Regions from separate parts of the Homo sapiens genome. Here all the other regions are linked to region 4. Evidence: promoter capture Hi-C in 16 types of primary human blood cells and fetal thymus (Javierre and others, 2016). All regions are on one chromosome and are shown on one strand. The core of a region is centred on a gene start or on the middle of the fragment in contact, and the rest is flanking DNA. Distances in the headings are between cores, read along the strand shown. Region 1 holds the start of CAPSL (calcyphosine like). Region 2 overlaps NADK2 (NAD kinase 2, mitochondrial). Region 3 overlaps SKP2 (S-phase kinase associated protein 2). Region 4 holds the start of RAD1 (RAD1 checkpoint DNA exonuclease). Region 5 overlaps TARS1 (threonyl-tRNA synthetase 1).

The links. Contacts are between HindIII fragments. The CHiCAGO score rates a contact against its expected background, and 5 or more counts as called.
Region 1: the fragment with the promoter of CAPSL here is called in contact with the fragment with the promoter of RAD1 in region 4 in 1 of 17 cell types (naive CD8 T cells); the score reaches 8.9 in naive CD8 T cells.
Region 2: a fragment that was not itself captured here is called in contact with the fragment with the promoter of RAD1 in region 4 in 2 of 17 cell types (naive CD8 T cells and monocytes); the score reaches 9.2 in naive CD8 T cells.
Region 3: a contact is called between a fragment that was not itself captured here and the fragment with the promoter of RAD1 in region 4, in 1 of 17 cell types (naive CD8 T cells). The highest score is 5.4, in naive CD8 T cells.
Region 5: a contact is called between a fragment that was not itself captured here and the fragment with the promoter of RAD1 in region 4, in 1 of 17 cell types (erythroblasts). The highest score is 7.1, in erythroblasts.

What each region holds. Positions count from the first base shown.
Region 1 is chr5:35,937,274-35,939,973 of GRCh38, forward strand. It overlaps CAPSL (calcyphosine like), which reads right to left and starts at 1,349. Exons shown (of 5, transcript NM_001042625.2): 1 at 1,268-1,349. It overlaps CAPSL-DT (CAPSL divergent transcript), which reads left to right and starts at 1,528. Exons shown (of 2, transcript NR_104630.1): 1 at 1,528-1,651; 2 at 2,450-2,700. The HindIII fragment of the contact is 5,426 bases long and covers 1-1,718 here.
Region 2 is chr5:36,236,756-36,239,511 of GRCh38, forward strand. The region is part of intron 1 of NADK2 (NAD kinase 2, mitochondrial); the gene reads right to left. Among named protein-coding and RNA genes, the nearest start is that of NADK2, 3.8 kb to the right of the region's middle. The HindIII fragment of the contact is 3,457 bases long and covers 1-2,756 here.
Region 3 is chr5:36,158,545-36,161,244 of GRCh38, forward strand. The region is part of intron 2 of SKP2 (S-phase kinase associated protein 2); the gene reads left to right. Among named protein-coding and RNA genes, the nearest start is that of SKP2, 7.8 kb to the left of the region's middle. The HindIII fragment of the contact is 828 bases long and covers 956-1,783 here.
Region 4 is chr5:34,914,154-34,916,853 of GRCh38, forward strand. It overlaps RAD1 (RAD1 checkpoint DNA exonuclease), which reads right to left and starts at 1,351. Exons shown (of 6, transcript NM_002853.4): 1 at 1,263-1,351; 2 at 542-808. The coding sequence starts at 739. BRIX1 (biogenesis of ribosomes BRX1) reads left to right here and starts at 1,558. Exons shown (of 10, transcript NM_018321.4): 1 at 1,558-1,744. The coding sequence starts at 1,586. It also overlaps a transcript of TTC23L not described here. RefSeq lists enhancers at 935-1,540, 987-1,046, 1,067-1,966, 1,541-2,146. The HindIII fragment of the contact is 14,569 bases long and covers 1-2,700 here.
Region 5 is chr5:33,464,936-33,467,732 of GRCh38, forward strand. It overlaps TARS1 (threonyl-tRNA synthetase 1), which reads left to right. Exons shown (of 19, transcript NM_152295.5): 18 at 1,936-2,050; 19 at 2,625-2,797. The coding sequence ends at 2,773. Among named protein-coding and RNA genes, the nearest start is that of TARS1, 25 kb to the left of the region's middle. The HindIII fragment of the contact is 2,178 bases long and covers 426-2,603 here.

The DNA of each region.
Region 1 (2,700 bases), core at 99-2,598, 1.0 Mb after region 4:
ATGGTCCCCCATTGCATACAGGTAAAATGAAAGTTCTTAGCATTGAATTCATGCATTGGCCTTTCCTATGTCTCCAGCCATTTCTAGTAATTCTCCATCCGTTCAAAATCTATCCTGCATCTCTACTCACTCACATTCCCCAAACACACCATAGCATTCTGTATCTCTGTGCCTTTGTACATGTAGTCACACTTGCAGGTACACCTTCTTTTTCCTGTTGGCCCAGAGAAGTCCCACCCATCCTTCCATGATCATGTGGTGAAGTCCAAATAGCATTCACATTGCAAGACAATGTAATTCGTTTTCGAATTACTTGCCCTGCTAGACAGACTATAAGGTCCTTACGAGGTAGAGCTGTATCCTTTGCATTTACTATCACCATATCATCAGGGCTTAGCAGGAGGCTATTTTATTGCTATTAGAATTTATCATTGTCATTGCTATTGGGTAATTTTTATCAGAATATAAATACAAATGTATGCCTGAAATTCAAATCTCAATATTTAAAACTTTCAATAACAAAATAGATTTTTGTGGTTGTAGGATTTGAGGAAAAAATAAGTCAAAAAAAAAAAACAGGTAAGAATTTCATCTACTTAATATGGTTTAAATACTCCCCAGACTGAAGGCAATAGAGATGGCTGCCTGGGTCATTGGTGTTGTCCTTTAATGAGAACGTAAAGGACCCCCTCAAGTCTCTGATGAATCAAATCAACTATTTGATATAATTTTGAACAAGCCATGTATGTACACTTTAATAAGCATCCTGATTTTTATTCTGATTCTCAGTTGTCAGTGTATAGCAGAAATAGCATAAGTTTAAGTATCAGACAAAGCAAGGTCTGAATGAAAGTTGAAATGTTTTATTGCTTTGTGACTTGGAAATGCTGAACCTCCCTGAAGCTCAGTTTTATCAGTGGTCATCAGGATCGTTAGAGCAATTCACCCAAACCCTTCACACTCAAATACCTAGTACCTAATGACTGCTCAGTAATGTTTACTTCCTTCCCCTTTACTGAATGAAATTTATTTTTGTGCATTTTTATCTAAGCATTTTTTTTGCAAAGATTACAAAAATCTTTCCCAGTACCAAGCTCTTTCCTCTTGCACTGACAGCCTAGTGATGGCTTCTCTAGTCCAAGAACTCTCAAAAGACTTTTAGATTTTCTTTTTAGAGAGTAACATCTACTGTCTTCTTTTCTCAGCTAAGACATACCAAGAAAAAAAAAAACATTAAATCATAGAATAGATAAAAACATTGATTTACCTTAAATGCTAACCTTTTGCCACCAGTTGCTTCGAACTGAAACTATGGACGCTGTCTCCTGCATCTAGGAAAACTGGTCCCTCCCAAGCCACCTTAGCCTCCTCCCTCTTACCTGTCTTCCTCAGGGGCCCTGGTCCACTCTCTTAGTATTAATTGGAGGACCTGGGATCACTGCTGCAGATTCACAGCCTGATTGGCTCAGCTCACTGTCAATCTCTACTCTGGTTCTGCCTTTTCTCAAGTTTACACTCCTGTTGCCTAGGAAATCTCAGTGACTGTGAAAGCTCAAGCCATTTGCACTGGGAGAGAAGCCAGCCAGAAGTTTTGCTGGCAATGGTTTGGTTTCTAGAACAGCATCAAAACTTGTCTCCCATGTTTTGTAAGGTAGTATTCAGCACATTGTCTTCTTTCTTTTAGGCAGCACCTTCCTGTCCTTCTGTAGTCCCCAGAAAGCTTACTGCTAGGGTGCCTCATTGCCAGGTGATACTTAAAACCACAACTCTTGGGAGCAGGCAGGGGTAATTATAGGTGATTCAAGGTTCTCCCTCCTTCTCTGCATTTGCAGAGGATGTCATTTCTGCTGTTTTCATCCTTGGTTTCTTCTCTTCTTTTCTCTTTTTGTTTCTTTTTACTTATGTTTTTCACATGTTCCCTAGCAGTTACTTTGCCAGATAAGAAGAAATCTAGTGGCTTATTTGGAGGAAAATATCTACACTATGCTCTCTTTCATTGTGTATCTATGACATCCACCCTATCCTTGTCATTCCCACTCCTGCACGTCCTGCTTTCAGGAGCAGGCAGGTATAATTAGTGGTGATTCAGACCTTACACCTCTCTCTTTCTCTCTCTCTCTCTGACACACACACACACACACACACACACACACACACACACACACACACACATCTCTGTATATAACATAATCCTGGCTGTGTGCAACATCCTTGCAGTATAAGAACTCACAAAACGGAATAGATGCCAGGCACCCAGCTCTGCAGACTACTAGGCAAGTTCTTTCATGGATTTGACAAGGGCTTGGGTCCTTTGCTATATCTGCAGGGAGTATACATAGTAGCTATTTCATCCTTTTATCTGAATTGTCTGAAGAATTGTCCCAGAATTAAGCAATTAGAACTGTGGTTCTTCCAGGGCAACCTCAGATGTCTAATGTTTTCTTTTCAGTGGTTTAACCCACAAGATATCACGCATTTGAAACTTTTAAGAAGAAACTTAATTTCATCTGTGAATGCAGAAGCAAATATGAGGGCATGGGCATTTAAATATGAAGTATTTCTTGAAAGCCACCTACTGGAGAGTAAGTTTGGTGCAATAATTTAAGAAAAGATAAAAAAGAAACAGGAAAATTGGGACAACGGACAGCATGATGGAGCCACCGTGCAAGCCCTCAATAGTCTGCCTCCAGGTTGTGTCAA
Region 2 (2,756 bases), core at 245-2,744, 1.3 Mb after region 4:
GTATTATGAAGTGAAGAATGCCTAACACAATCTTGGTAGCCAGAGAAAGGCAGAGGCACAGCAAGGTTACCAAGGATGGCATCCTGAGAGAGTAATGTCTGAGCTTAACCTCAAAAAAAAAAAAAAAAAAAACAGGAATTGGATAGAGGAAGAAGAGCATTCAAATCAAAGGAGGCTACAAAAGTAGACACATAGACACTGAGAGATGCAAATTCAACCACCCTGAAATACCATCTTTCACCCACCAGGTTGGCAAAGACCCAACAATTTAATGAACTATGTATGGAAAAATAAGTCCCCTTATACAGGGCTGGTGAAAGTAAAAATCTGTATAATCTCTAAGGGAAGCAATTTGGCCAAATCTGTTAAAACTTTATATGCACAAGGCTTTTGACTCAACAATTTCAACTTTAGGTATTTGTCTTAGAGCTTGATTTACATGCATATAAACACAAATGTTATTCATTTCAGAATGTGTTTAATAGCAGAAGATAAATTAGGACACAAAATAAAGTAACATACATACTATTTTTAAAAAGAATGGGAATGTTCTTTATGACAATCTCCACAAATGCTGTTAGGCTAAAAAAAAAGGCACATAATAGCTTAAATAGTATATTATCATTGAATAAAAAGAGATGAGGCAAAGAAAAAGAATATTTCACTGTGCTGATTTGTAGGTATAGGTTGCTTCTGGAAGAAAACACAAGAAATTGATAACAGTTACTTCCAGGGACAAAACTGAATGACAAATGACAAGTAACAGAAAGACTTCTTTGTATAATATTTTGTATCTTTTATATTTTGAATCATTTTATGTGCTACTGATCCATAAATTAAACTAAATCAGTACAACATCTAATGGAAATTAACACAGTTTGAAATTGCTAGAATATGAAATTTAAGACAAGAAGTGATCAGAAGTGAAGCTCAAGAGATAGCCAGTTCATGAAGGGACTTATCTGCCATTCTAAAGATCATGAACTTGAGCCCACAACTGTGTTTCTCAGTTTAACTGGGGACCACATGCCAACCAGGGATAAAACACATCCCTGGAATTCAGCCGGAGTCATTAATTTCAGGTGTGTGCTTCATAAAACCAAAGTCTGGGAATTCTCCACAAACTGAGTCAGAGTCTTGCGGGGCTAAGGTTCAGGTGTCTGCATTTTAACAAGTACTCTTGGTGACTAAAGGGTACAGGGAGCTTCTGTGGAGTTCCAAGCAAAAGAGAGAAAGGGCCAGATGTTCACTTTAGATAGACACTCTGGTAACTGTGTCTAGAAGATTTGAGAGGAGCAAGGATTCAGTTAGAAAGCTCTGGCAGTACTCCAAATCATGCTCTTTAATTTGATTAACAATCATATTGTATGTAATATACTTATTGCATACAATGTAGCAAAAGTATACCACCTGACAAAAGTATACCATGGTACGCTTATTGCATACCCTGTGGCAAAAGTATTATCTGCCCAAGTGCTACAACCTAAGCCACAAAATCTTCAGAAAACAAAAGGGAAATCCAAGGTGCTACACCTTCCAAGTCATCTAGTTTAATCCAATAACACGGCAGACTGTTAAATGAAATTATTCTATCCCATTATGAATTTTAAAAAACAAAACTAAAAATAGGAACCAGTAAAAGGGTTGCCGAGTTGTGAGACCTGGAATGATGGAGAGGAGGGCAGAAACTGCTGACTTCTTATTTGTTCTACATTAAAATTTTTTTTCCTTATTCAGTTCCCCATCCCTGGTGACAGGTGAAAAAGAGCTTTAAATAAAACCTTTTTTTGACCAATGAGGTATGTTTCTGGTGTCAAAATCCTTTCCAAGTCAGTTTTGTTTCATCTAGAGTTCTAATTTGTGTCAAGGACCCTGTTAATAGCAATTGCACATTTGCCAACAGCTACATCTCTTAATGATGCAAGTAAATTGTAATAATAGTTTTACTGGCCTTTGAAAGGTCATGAGACAGTAGAGGTAAAATGTTTGACCAGAAATCTGATATCACAAAATAAGTCACTGGTCAATCAATGGGGAAAAAGACAAGATTTTAAAATAAAGCAATGTAACCAATATGAAACGGTAAATAAAAGTCAAAACTTTGACTAGCTTGAAGGTTGTAAACCTATTCTGTGCATGCCTTATCAACTAAAAAATATTTCCTGTAATTGTTTACATTTCTACAAAGTTAGAAAATCATCAGCCTTCAGGGTATAAAATTATACTGGCACTCTATCCTTCATCTTCCATTTGCATTTTAACAAATAGCCTAAAACAGACCTGTTTTACATCAAAAAACCACCACCACGACAACAAAAGAGAATGCTTTGACAAAAAACCAAGTTACCATGACACTATAGACACAGCAGCCATGGTGAGACTCAAGCACTTGGCCACTTTCTTTTATATCCATCCAATTCACATGATTCACATAACTTAGTATTTTCTACCCCAGCAATATAACAAATAATACTTATCATCTTATCACTCCTATTACAGAATCCCATTTTAGGACAGCTTCACACAGCCCAGTATTCTTTGGCCTGTTAATAATCTCTCATCTGGTCTACAACTAATGCTATTGCATTCTGAGTATGGGCCTTTATATAAACTATAACACAAATTCAAATCAGTAAGGAACTTATCCAATAAAACTGTAATGACAACACCACCAACAAAAACTATTCCACTGCCTGGCAATTACAAAACTGTGTATTCTACAGCCCACGAGTTTTACTTCAAAGCTGGCTTATCCC
Region 3 (2,700 bases), core at 120-2,619, 1.2 Mb after region 4:
CCTTCCATTTGGTGGTGAACCCATTGATAGCATCTTTGTTTTATTTTCTCTCTCCTCCTCCACTCACTCCCTAGCCCTGATTGATTTCTGTTTCCATAGCAAGTCCGGGTTTAATTCTCACCTTTTCAAAATTTGTACTTACAACAGAGGAGAGCATAGAATATTAGAACCCACTAGGATGGAAAGGGCATGATTTGAAATCAGACCTGAGTTTAAATTCCCCCTCTGCCACTTACTGATTGTGTGACCTTGTCTCTTTTATCATAGTTGCATGTTTTCTTGAAGCCCCAGCCCCCATCTCCCAGAGACTACAGCTATACTGATAGAGGACATTCCCTTCTGCTCTGGGTTTTTGTCTTCAGCCTCATCCCCTCCATATGCCAACAGTGCTGTGCACATAGTCGTTAATTGGTTAATAAGGGTTAGCCATTCACACTAATAAAGAATTAGCACATTCACCATTTGAATGAAGAGGGCTAATAAATACATTTGGCAAATATTTATAGAGTCCTGTTATGTGCCAGGCATTGTTAGGTAATGGATGTGCAAATCTGGGCATGGGGCCTGTGGTGGTATCCTGGGTGGGAATGCTTCTTTGAGCAGGTGCCATTTAAGCTGAAATCTGGAGGAGTTGGGAAGGCAAAGATGGAAGTTGCAACACAAAGTCCTCCAGACTTTGGAGTCTCACATGCAGTCTTCATTGGTTAGGTCTACTGACCTCTGCATTCATCACTATGCCAGATTTTCCTCTAGCACTTTAATTACCTGGCTGCTACTGCTCTTTTAATTGGTCCTGATTTCTTATGTCTTCCTAATAGAAAGCACCAAGTTTGTTAATTTATTTCTCCTGCCCTGTACTTCATAGCAAGCTTTTCTAATTTCCTTTCCCCAGCCATAATTTCTGTTGGTGCCCTATCTATAGCCCCTTGAAGCCCCCCATTCCCTTACATGCCAAAGCTTTTGCCTACGTGTAGATGAGATTCCATGCCTGAGGGCTTTCTCTGGGCAGGAATACTGGGGAGTCCCCAAATAGTGACCAACAGCAATTGATGGATTAATACCCCAGCACTCGTGCCCTTGGTTGAGACAGCTCTGGGGTAGTTTCTAGATGGTTTACTGGAGTCCCCAGAAGATTTGAACCCCAATTGCCCATAGGGATAACCTGCCTATTAGCCTACTCCAGGTTGGCTTTCTTCCCTTCCACCTCTGTCTTCTCCACTCTTTCTAGTGCTTCCTGGCATCACTTCCCAAATAAACTACTTGAAGTCAGAGCTTCAGAATCTGCTTCTGGGGGACCCAAACTTAAATAAAGGGCAGATACGGGGTTTTGGTAAGTCATACCATGCAGACCTTGTCCAGTGTCTGCCCATGGGTGAAAATTCAGAGCAGCACTGAAAAGGTCATTGCATGAAGAAAATACCCAGACTTAACTGGGAAAGGAGAGGAATATAGAAAAGAAAGTTTTACTCCCTGCTGCATTATTTAATCTTTTCTTGTACCTCATTTACTCTTCACTGAACAATTTTGCAAGATAAATCTGTCAATTTCCTTTCCTGCAGGTAAAGAAACTGAGGCCAGAAAGATTAAGTAACTTGCCCAAGTTCACAGACTTGGGGCAACACAGCCAGGATTCTGATAGAAACTGTGCTGCTTTCTCAGTCCAGTAGTCCTCAAATGTGTTGAGGAGGCCCAGCGTATGGTGTCAGTATGATTTTTACAGATTATAGTAAAATCTCAACATATTAGATTCAAAATAGCTAAGTATGTTATTGAAGTATAGTTAAGCTTACTCTTCCATAGAGGCCACTTCCTCCAGGAAGGCTTCCTTAACCTCTGCACCATTCCCATGTGCTGCACAGCACCCTGAATCCTGCTGTAGCCCATCAGGATAGTTTATTGAAATTTCCTGTTTAATTGTTTGTCTGTATCTCTCAAACTCAGAGTAGAATAAGGGTCAGGATTGTACCTTACTTATTGTTGTGGCCCAAAACCTAGAACAGACCTCAGTGTATATAGTACATGGTTAATAAATACGTGAGTGGATGACTATACTTATAGCTAAATATAGTTATGCCCAATCAATTACTAGATTCTGATCTAGATATGTAAGAGGCAGCAGAGGTCTGAGAGAGTTGGATTAATGGGAGAAAAACTTGAGAAAAGCCTGTCATTCAACTTTGTTTTCAATTTGGGGAGCAGGGCAAGAGCCTGGTTTGAGAACCTTTGTCCCCTGCCCATGTTGACTTTGGAGGAACTTTGTGGCAGTGATGGAACAGCTGCCACGTCGAGGAGCCTCCTCACAACCTCCAGCTGCCTCCCCAGATCAGCAGGGGTGATCTGCCTTCAGCTTTCTACCCCTAGCTTTCAGGGCCTCAGTCAGTCCTTTAATTTTGTCCCCTGAAGGGCGTGAGGCTAGGGGAACAGGCATTCATTGAACAACTGTGTATCTCCTACTCATTCTTCAAGAGAGGCCACTTCCTCCAGAAAGGCTTCCCTAACCCCTGCGCCATTCCCATAAGCTGCACAGCACCCCGAATCCTACTGTAGCCCATCAGGATAGGTTATTGAAGTTTCCTGTTTGTCTATATCTCTCAAACTCTGAGCAGAATAAGGGTCAGGATTGTGCCTTATTTATCATTGTGTCCTTAAAACCTAGAATAGACCTCAGTGTATAGTACATATTTTATAAATATGGGAGTG
Region 4 (2,700 bases), core at 101-2,600:
AGAACAAAAATTCTATTACAACCAGTAAAGGAAAAAAATACTCTTTAGTAATAGCATATCGCAGTGGAAAAAAGAGCATATATTCTGGAAACAAATATTCAGCGTTCTTATCCCAATTCAGCCACTTACCAGCTGTGGGACTGTTGGCAAATCACTTAAAATTGTGCCTCGTTTCCACATATATAAAACGGGAATAATAACAGAACCTACCTTACAGGACTATTGTTAAGATTAAATAAGTTAAACAATAAGAAGACTGTAGCCTAGCCAATAGCCTAGTTTAATAAACTTTAGTCATTACTAACCATTATCTCTGTAAAACAAGATGGGAAAAGAATTTGTTACCGGGAGAGAAAAAAAATTCAAGTAATGACGTTTTGTTCTCTAACTTAAGACTATTATTTATTTATTAAGTTATTTATTATGACTATTGACAAGTTATTATGACTATTAAGTTATTTTGTCTACTGAAACCTTCCGATTTCATTAAATTACATTTAGAGTATCTATGGCACAGGCTTAAAGGCGCCTACTTCCATACCTGAATAAAAGCATTTGCTTGCACACACTTTGCATTTTCCACTGTTACTTTGATACCATTTTTAGTTGCGAAACACGTGGCATGTTCTCGGAAATGAATAGCTTTCAAGATAGTGGAGAGATTCCTAACGTTGTCAAGGCTGGCCACAAGGCTGTACTGATCATCCTCGTCTTGGATCTGTTGGGTCAGAAGGGGCATCGTCCACTGCGCATTCGGCCCCGAGGGATGCTCCTGGGGCCAACAACTTCTCGGCGGATCGCCAAACACCTGAAGGGATTAGACAGTAAAACTCCCATCAGTGCTGGCGAGGTCCGGCGAGCTCCACCTGCGCTGAGAGGTGGAAAGGGGCTGGGAGGCTGAACACGGCTGACCAGGCCGAACCCCACCTATGTCACTTAACTATCTTTGTAATTCTGGAGGAAAATTATCTAAGCTACGGTTTCCTCGTCTCCGTAAGAGGACAATAACGTGAAAAGTTGTGAAGAATGAAGACACGCAACTGACACGGTATCTCCCGGCCAAACAGGAGCTACAAATCCGCGGGGAGTCGGTTTTGTGCAGCCCGCGCCACCAGCCCCGCCTCCAACAAAACAGGCGATGGCGGGGCGGGCCCGGAGTGTCCAGATAATCCTCCAAGAGTCCCAGACAACCCCATTCACCAGCCCGCCCGCGGGACAGCATCGCTTACTAGTCTCGGGGTCCCCGAGTGCGGAAACCCTACCTTTGCGGTGGGGTCTGGACGCCCGAGAGCCCTTCTCAGCAAAGTCCCTGAAGAGGAGCGAGGCGGCTCCGAGGAACCGCGGAGGAAGTGAAGCCAGTCCCGCCACTCTTCAGACCGGCCCTCCACCTCGGCCACCGTCACCACAGAGCTGAAGGAGGCCTAGAGAGCCGCGCGTGCCGCGCCACCGAGACCGGAAGGAGGCGGCACAGACCTGGAGGACGACCGCGGAGCTGAGCGCTTAGAGCCGCCGAACCATAGAGATCGGAAATAGGAGCGAGCGGCAGCGCCGGAAAGGAGGCCAAGAGCGCGGGCGGCGAGGCAAGATGGCGGCAACCAAGAGGAAACGGCGTGGAGGCTTTGCAGTTCAGGCGAAGAAGCCAAAAAGAAACGAAATAGATGCGGAGCCGCCAGCTAAGCGGCACGCCACAGCAGAGGAGGTGGAGGAAGAAGAGAGGGACCGGATCCCAGGCCCCGTTTGCAAGGTAGGAGGGGATGTCCCCGGGCTACACCTGCGGCGGCGGCTCTGTGCGCCTTTTCTTGGGTTACTTACTTGACTACAGCCTTGCTTAATTTCAGAGTAGCCCGGGTGTTAACGGTAGGTCGGTTTTAGCAATTCTCCCGGCCAGACTGGGCACGGAGTTTGCAGCTAATCCTTGTGCACGTGGCCGTCTTCCTGGAGGCGGCGGGTTTTAAAACCTTTACCCGGCCCACGGGGAAGCGACTTACAGGGTGCTCAGATCCAGCGTTCTTTCTTACTAGTTGTTCAGTTGTTTTTTTTTTTTAATGTTTTTGGAGAGTAGTGCTTTTCCTTGGTTATTTCTCGCTATTATTTCTCCAGTGATTAGTATGCCCATATACTGCCATAGTCAGCCACTCTCAGTCAGGGATCCTGAAGTACGTTAGGGGAGCCTTTAAAAAGTTGTTGCCCTTGGGACTGTGACTCTGACTTGTTAACCAGGTCATTAACTCAAGAGATACTGAAAAATAGACTAGGTAGTATGAGCTTTACTTGTATTCAACAGACATTGAATGTGCCATGCACTGTACCAAGTTAGGCTTCCTTTGGGTTTGAGATTGCAAAGATGACTAGAATGTGACCTCTTCCTCCTGAAATGTTGGAGTTTAGGAGGAAACTTAAGAATTCAAATAAGTTGATGGTTTTTATTCAAAAGAAGTGCACACAAGTTGTTAGAATTAGCTTTCATTCAACTAAGAACTCTTCTTAAGCTAGACAGAATACTGTGAACAAGGATTATCTTTGACATTAATTTTTGCGTCCTCCGCACTTAGCATAGTACTCTAGCGCGGAGTAGGTGATAAGTAAATGACCCCGTGTGGTGTGATGGCAAGCTCTAAGAAAGAAGTGAGCTCTGTGGAATGAAAGATAAGTGTAAATTCTAGCCCCGTTATTAACAGCAACATTCTGTGCTCTTTTCTG
Region 5 (2,797 bases), core at 265-2,764, 1.4 Mb before region 4:
GGCACCTGTAGTCCCAGCTACTCAGGAGGCTGAGGCAGGAGAATGGAATGAACCCAGGAGGCGGAGCTTGCAGTGAGCCAAGATCATGCCACTGCACTCCAGCCTGGGTGACAGAGCAAGACTCCATCTCAAAAAAATAAATAAATAAAAACAAATAAATAAATAAAAAAAATGAAGTGAACACTAAACCATCTAATAGATAAACCATTCAGACTATTCCTGTTACTGCACTCAGTAGTTTTAGTTACAAATGATGACAATCAAAGTTATGTTCCATGGTTGAGTGCACTTTGTCTTATTTGTATGTGAAAACTCACACAGTAGGAAGAAGTTCTGTATTGGTTAACTGAGTTCTCAACTGGAGACAGCACTGACTTCCCCATTTCCCTTTGCGGGTAGGTGGCATTCCAGATTATGTGGTGGTAAGCTTTTCTTTTGCGGGGAGAGAAGACAGGGCAGTACTCCTGATACCTAATAACTATAGAGCAGACATGTTAAACACCCTGTAATTATCAGGCCACTTCCCCAACTGCAGAATTGCCCATCTCACGTGCACACACAGGACCCATGTTGAGAAAAATGAAGAAACTGATGCCTTATTCTTTAAAGTAGTTATAAGTTGAAGATGTAGACCTATCTTGGCATTCTAAAATTCTGTAACAACCCTTCTGAAATGGGTGTAATAAAATGTCAACAGGTTAATTGGTTCGTGATCACTGTGGCTTAAAAATCTAGTTAAAATGCTAAGACTTGTGCACAGTATAGGCAAAGTCACTTAGATTGTTTCAAAAAGTATGCCTTATAGAAATAAACATTTGACATACATAAATAACCCTTGGTTTACACATAACTCGCATTTGAGAAATGAATGTGTTGTAGATCATTTAGAATCTTTTTCAATCAAAAATTGAAAGAAATATTTCGTCACCCAGGTCAACCAGAGATTGCTGGTTTTACTCATGATACTTAAGTAGAGTATGATAGTTACTATTTCACCTTCAGCTGTACTTAAGATGTTTTCCTGGAAAAATTCATTCTGCTTTCTGACCAGGATTTCCAGAAACTCTGACCCTTCTAAGAGGTCTGGGTGGAATTGTGATGGTGATTCTGCTAGTAGACAGTGTAACTTCTGCGTCTACAAAAAGAGGATAGGCCGTCACTGCTCACATGGCTTTGCGTGAAAGCCCAATGGTACTGTCTCTATGGCAGAGATGAGGAAGGAACACCAGCGTCCTCCAACTTTCCTGTTCTTCCTTTGGGTTAATGGCCACTGTAAGGAAACAGTTTTCTGCCACGTGTGGGGTGATTTGAATGTAAAATGCCCAACTCTCATAGCAGGCTGAACAGAAACATTTTTTATACTCATTGTTAATTTGTTCTAATCTAAATTACTTTTAGACTATTAAATATTATTCTATTTTAAAGTTAAGGGACTAATGCCTCTGATAACCTGATTAAAAAAAAAAACTTTCTGATACTCAGAAGTTAAGATTTATTCAGTTGAAGATCATTTCTTTCAGGTGTTGATCGTGTGATATTTTTCACATCTGTAATCTGAGGTTCATATGAAATGATAGTGAAATAAAATTGTTCATTTAGGTCTTTTTGTCATGTTAATATGTTATCAGGTTAATGGGAAGTTTAATCTAGTTAATGTAAAATTAATAAATTGTAATCTAGTTTATTGCTTTTTTGGAAAAGAATACTGAAAACATTGTTTACTTAATACACATGACCTGAGGTAATAAAGAGGAGCTGGCCTTTTTGAGGGGGGAATAATGGCAGTGAATAATATTATCTAAGACAGTTTTGCCAGCTTTAAATTCCTGGAAGTTCATCCAAGAAGTCCTGATCCCTGTGTTCAGTAAAATCATGTGAGATCAAAATATAATTCTGATTTTAGATCTGACAAATTCTGTATCTCTGTTACAATAGGTACGACAACAATTCCACGATGCCAAATTCATGGCAGACATTGATCTGGATCCAGGCTGTACATTGAATAAAAAGATTCGAAATGCACAGTTAGCACAGTATAACTTCATTTTAGGTAAGAATGGAAACTTACCAAAGAAAATTTGCCACACCTCAGGAAAATCTACTGAAACCTTGAGACAGGTTTAAGTGAATTGTAATCAAGAATTTATTTAGTTCCTTCCAGTCCTGATTTTTTTTCTATTATATATTTTAATATATAATAACTATAAAAATAGGCTCATGCATACATACTGGGTTTTTTTTTTTTTCACTTAAATCATGGATGTCTGTGAGAAAATATTTTGCTATTATAACAAGAATGAAGACGCATTGCTTTTAAACACATCTATTGGATTACTTTCTCAAGATAATGCCTTATGTGGGATTACTTGAAAAAAGATATTCATGATGTTTGGGGTTTTATTATTTGGTTGTTACGTTGTCTAGATTGACTCCATAAGCACAGTAGTTTTAGATATTGCAAAGAGTTTCTTTTAAATATCAACACATGGTCACTTGTACCTTTTAATGTATCAGAAGCTATGGGGTAGGTTTTGGGTCCTAGGATCATTTCTTTTCAGATGTTCAGTGTGAATTCTTCCATATCTTTAGATTAAGTCTGACAAAGCTTTGTGTGTTTGTTTTAGTTGTTGGTGAAAAAGAGAAAATCAGTGGCACTGTTAATATCCGCACAAGAGACAATAAGGTCCACGGGGAACGCACCATTTCTGAAACTATCGAGCGGCTACAGCAGCTCAAAGAGTTCCGCAGCAAACAGGCAGAAGAAGAATTTTAATGAAAAAATTACCCAGATTGGCTC